Regions from separate parts of the Homo sapiens genome. Here region 2 is linked to region 1. The links are contacts of gene promoters, found by promoter capture Hi-C in human tissues and cell types (Jung and others, 2019). All regions are on one chromosome and are shown on one strand. Each heading gives the region's core, a stretch centred on a gene start or on the middle of the fragment in contact. The rest is flanking DNA. Distances are from core to core; before and after follow the strand shown.

What was found. The method cuts DNA at HindIII sites, captures the fragments that hold promoters and counts their contacts. A contact is called where the count stands out against the background at its distance.
Region 2: a fragment that was not itself captured here is called in contact with the fragment with the promoter of MAP6D1 in region 1 in 1 of the 25 tissues and cell types used here (pancreas).

The regions. Positions count from the first base shown.
Region 1 is chr3:183,824,211-183,826,910 of GRCh38, reverse strand. It overlaps MAP6D1 (MAP6 domain containing 1), which reads left to right and starts at 1,334. Exons shown (of 3, transcript NM_024871.4): 1 at 1,334-1,764. The coding sequence starts at 1,364. It also overlaps a transcript of PARL not described here. RefSeq lists silencers at 1,127-1,476, 1,537-1,606, 1,627-1,756. The HindIII fragment of the contact is 8,198 bases long and covers 1-2,700 here.
Region 2 is chr3:183,767,542-183,770,241 of GRCh38, reverse strand. The region is part of intron 15 of YEATS2 (YEATS domain containing 2); the gene reads right to left. Among named protein-coding and RNA genes, the nearest start is that of YEATS2-AS1, 42 kb to the left of the region's middle. The HindIII fragment of the contact is 8,730 bases long and covers 1-2,700 here.

The DNA of each region.
Region 1 (2,700 bases), core at 85-2,584:
CAACTGCTCTTTGACTGTTGTTTGATCAATGAAGTAATAAAAAGAGAGCTGCTCTCTTTTCCTGCGAGATGGAGAATTTTAGTCCCAAGCGCCATCTGCCAGGCTGGCTAACCCAGGGCCGTGGCGGACAGTCCACAAAGAGTTCACTCTGACCCGGCCCCTGTGTGTCATTTTCCAGGATCTCCCTCTACACCTGGCGCCTCGCCTGCTGCCTGCTGGGACATGGCCTGGCCTGCTCAGCTGACCTGCTGCCACTTCTAGGCAGCCGTCATGTCACTTTGCTACAACTTCAAGCTAAGACAGGCAATGTTTTGGGAGATGAATCTGTTTTCTGACTGGCCAGGGATGTGCTGCAGTCCCCTCCCAGGCGCAGACTGGATACCTTCCAAGTACAACCTTGAAATGGAGCTCTGGGTAATTAATGCTGTCTCAGTAGTGTTATTAGTAATTGGTCTGCAGTGTATACCGAGAGCATGTGTCAAATATTCAGAAAAGCGTTTGTGGGTGGTCAGGGAGTTGTTTGAGACGGTGTCCTGCATTGAACAGACCTGCCTTTACGCTGGAGGATCCCTCAACAGCTCTGCCTGAAAACAGCCATGCATGCACAGGAGGAAAGGAACTTGATAGCCTTGTGGCCAGTTCTGTGGCCGCTTTATCAAACTAAAGCTTTTGCAAATGGCCATGCTTTAAAATTAGGAATTTCAGAACCCAGGGAAAGGTCGATTGGTGGCTAATGCCAATTCTAATGAAAAGTGGATTGGTTGTCACAAATGTAGACTAGCATCCTAAAGGCAAATAGGCGGCGACTCACAGGCTGACTGAAACACGTGTTCTCCGGGAAGCAGGGCCCCGAGTCTTCTCTGACACCCTCATTGCTGCACCTGCCCCTGTGCCCGCGGAGTCCATGCGGTGCAGCCTGGCACAAATGCAGCAGTCGCTGGGCGTCCCGAGGCCACATGGAGAACCTCCCGGCTGGCGGACTGCTCCCAGCTGCGACCATCGGGCCCTTGGCCTCTGCGAAGCCGGGGCCATTTATAAGATGACACTGAGGGAACTTTGGATTCAATTCTGAGGCATTCTTCGAGATGGACACTTGTAAATGAATGCAGGCGGTTTCCGGTGCCCCCTGGCGACGGTGCAGCCTTTCCCCCATCCGCGCTCCCTCCAGCTCCAGCCGTGCGCAGCCGGCCCCGGCCAAGTGGGGCTGCCGCCGAGTGCGCCCCCTCCCGGGACGCCCACCCTCGTGCCGGGGGGCGGTGCTGCGGCGGCGCGGGGCGGGCCGCGGGGGCGGGGACGCTGGGCGCAGGAGGCGCGGCCGGGAGCGCCGCGCGCCGGGAGCGGGGCGGCGGGCGCCGGGGCTGGCATGGCGTGGCCCTGTATCAGCCGCCTGTGCTGCCTGGCGCGGCGCTGGAACCAGCTGGACCGCTCCGACGTGGCGGTGCCGCTCACTCTGCACGGCTACTCGGACCTCGACAGCGAGGAGCCGGGCACGGGCGGCGCCGCCTCGCGCAGGGGCCAGCCTCCCGCGGGCGCCCGGGATTCCGGCCGGGACGTGCCGCTCACTCAGTACCAGCGGGACTTCGGCTTGTGGACCACGCCCGCCGGGCCCAAGGATCCGCCGCCGGGGCGCGGACCGGGGGCGGGCGGCCGCAGGGGCAAATCCTCCGCGCAGTCCTCCGCGCCACCTGCGCCCGGCGCCCGCGGGGTCTACGTGCTGCCCATCGGCGACGCGGACGCGGCTGCAGCAGTGACCACGTCGTACAGGTATGGGCTGGGTAGGGACCGCAACGAGTCCCCACCCTGTGGTGGGAGGACGCGGAGGCCCGGAGCCAGAGGGATGGGGTGGGCGGCAGAGCGGAGGCGCCTGGAGCCCGGATCCCACGCGACCTCGGAGCTGCCGGCGGCCTCAGAGGTCACCCCCGTTTGGTCCGTGGGCACTGCAGGCGGCGCCTTCGCTGCTCCATGCCCGGACTCAGTGCTCGAGCACCCCCGTGCCGGGAGCGCACCGCTGCCCTCGCAGCCGCCCTCCTGGGGGCAGCCGTCAGAATGGCCTGCCTTCAGCCGAGTTGGAACCGGCCTCCCTTTAACTCCCACCGCCGGGCCTAGCCGTGCGAGGGGTGCGCGCAGGCCATGTCCCCCAGCTCTCTCCGGTCACTGCCTAGTGTGCGGGCGTTGGTGGTGAGGACCGAGCGCAGGGTCCCGTGTGGGTGAGCCCTTCAGAGTCCCACTGTGACAGGGGCTTTCAGGGAGAACGGGTCCGCGGGCCCTCCCCACCTCCCAGCCCAGCTCTGCTCCTGGACAGCCGAGGGCTTTCTCCCTTTTTTCCTCTTACCACAAAAGTAATTCATACTGTAGAAAAATGGGAAAGTACAGAAATTACAACAAAATACGTATCTCCTTGATCCCTCCCCAGACGAGTTCTTTCTACTCCGTAATGTGCATTTGGTGCATATGCACTGATATATTTTTACGTGGTTAGATTCTTACTGTACACTTTTTTCACCAGTTGTAGAAGTCTGTCCGTGTTACTACATGTTCTGCAACATGAATTTTAATAAACGTGCAGTATTTTATCCTATGGATATGCCTTTATATCTTCAAGTTTTATTTATCTACTTCCTTACCATTGACTATTTAGGGTGTTTCTAATGTGGGACTATTAAAAGCACTACTTTTCCTTTGATGCAGCTATTTCACTAC
Region 2 (2,700 bases), core at 56-2,555, 57 kb after region 1:
TAATTTTTTGTATTTTTAGTAGAAACGGGGTTTCACCGTGTTAGCCAGGACGGTCTTGATCTCCTGACCTCGTGATCCGCCCGCCTCGGCCTCCCAAAGTGCTGGGATTACAGGTGTGAGCCACCGCACCCGGCCAGAAGTTTTAAATTAAAATATTACTATACCATACACGGTTTCTGTTCAAAGACTGTGAGTTCAGTAAAATACATTTACCATGCAGTTGGATAATATAGCTGATATAAAGAAAACAGTCCCTTGGCTGGGTATGGTGGCTCGCGCCTGTAATCCCAGCACTTTAGGAGGCTGAGGCGGGCGGATCACAAGGTCAAGAGATTGAGACTGTCCTGGCCAACATGGTGAAACCTCATCTCTACTAAAATTACAAGGAATGAGCTGGGCGTGGTGGTGGGCACCCCAGCTACTCGGGAGGCTGAGGCAGCAGAATCGCTTGAACCTGGGAGTCGGAGGTTGCAGTGAGCTGAGATCGTGCCACTGCACTCTAGCCTGGCGACAGAGCAAGACTCTGTCTAAACAATAAATAAATAAAATGAAAACAGTCCCTTAATCAAATATTATAAACTATAGCGTCACAAAGAGGAAACAGTGCAGGTTTCGGTAAGCAGACAGATCTGGTTTTCCAGGTTAGTTATTTTTAGTTAGTAGCTAGGTAAGTTATTTAACCTCTCTTGAGTTTTACCATCAATCCCCTCATCTATAAAATATGGGTAACATTTACCCTCCGAATCATGAAGCAAAATGAGAAAAAGTATATAGGATGCCTAGCTAACATGACAGCTGTTGCTGCTCATCACAACACTTCAACTGAAGAATAATAATCCACAAGGGGATGTGGAGACCAGCAAAGGACAGCCAAAGGACAGACATTTGTGGCTGTCTTCCGCATTCGGCCAAGGCAGAGACCTTGATCTTAACCTCTGGATTCAGCAGGTGAAACAAATTAATCTTGAGTGAATTATACAACATGGGGATCCGCCTGCTACTTTAAAATATTCCAGGGAGATAAATTAAGATGAGTAAAATGCTGGTAATTGTTAAAACTGGGTAATAGGCATGTGGGATTCATCACACTCTTCTCCCTACTTTTCTGTATGTTTAAGGAGAGAAGAAAAGAAGAAACAGAATAAAAGAACCAATTTTAAAAAGCAAGTTAACCTAGAATGAAGACAAGAAATCACCCCCGGCTCTCCTGGTTTGGTTGAAATACCCCTTATTACCCACATCTACATCTCTGTTTTGTTGTTGTTTTTTGAGACGGAGTTTTGCTCTTGTTGCCCAGGCTGGAGTGCGGTGGCACGATCTCAGCTCACCGCAACCTCCGCCTCCTGGGTTCAAGCAATTCTCCTGCCTTTGCCTCCTGAGTAGCTGGGATTATGGGCACACGCCACCACACCTGGCTAATTTTGTATTTTTAGTAGAGACGGGGTTTCTCCATGCTGGTCAGGCTGATCTTGAACTCCCGACCTCAGGCGATCTACCTGTCTCGGCCTCCCAAAGTGCTGAGATTACAGGCACCTGGCCTTCATCTGTGTTCTAACTGCATGAACTTCATTCTGCAGGGGACCTGTAGAGTTTCTGTAGCCACAGAGCAGGGCAGGGTCATCCTCCCAGTGATGTGGAAATACGGAAACCCTTCTTACTGATCAAGAACTTTTCTGTATATTTATGAAAGAAAAAAAAAACCCTTCTTAATGTAGCAAAACTTTTTGGGAGTGTGGCAGAAACTGCTAGTTGAACCCCAATATCTATTATTTCCTTCTCCTCTCATAGTAACAGAGCCCCCAGTTTTCAGCTGGGGCAATGGCCACATGGAATCACAACTCTATTTCCCAGCCCTCCCAGACCTAGGCGTGGCCATTTGCTTTCTGGCTAACGGGATGTGTGCAGAAGTGAGAGCGACTTTCGGGCTCTGTCTGCCCTCAGCTCTCCCTCCCCCTGCTCCCTTCCTCTTGGCAAGAAGCGTGAACGTGGAGGTATGAGATGAAGTGTTTTCTTAGTCCACAAGCCGAAAGCCAAATTTTGAGAATGTCAGAGCAAAAAAAGGAAAGCCAGGGATCTAGATTCTCGATGACTGTATGAGAAATAAACTTACTTAAAGTTCTGGTGTTCAGATTTCTCTGTTGCAGTAGTTGAACTTTTCTCTTAACTAAGATAGCAGTCTTCAAACCTCCCAAACATATCAAATAACCTATTTCACAAGTTAAATTACACAGAATCTACTTTTATGTTCCTAAACAAAGAAAGCAAATAACTTAGGGAAAACAATACACACATTTTTAGACCTACTTCAATTTCTTTCCCCACATTACATGCACCTGACTTGCTTTTCCTTTCTTGTGCCAAGTGCTTCAGAGTTTTCAGGATATGACACGTAATTTCTCCAAGAACCCAGTAAAACCTGGTATCCTGCCGGGCGTGGTGGCTCATGCCTGTAATCCCAGCACTTTGGGAGGCCGAGGTGGGCGGATCATTAGAGGTCAGGAGTTTGAGACCAGCGTGATGAACATGGTAAAACCCCGTCTCTATTAAAAAATAAAAAAAATGGCCGGGCACAATGGCTCACACCTGTAATCCTAGCACTTCAGGAGGCCAAGGCGGGCAGATCACAAGGTCAGAAGTTTGAGACCAGTGTGGCCAACATAGTGAAACCCTGTCTCTACTAAAAATACAAAAAAATTAGCT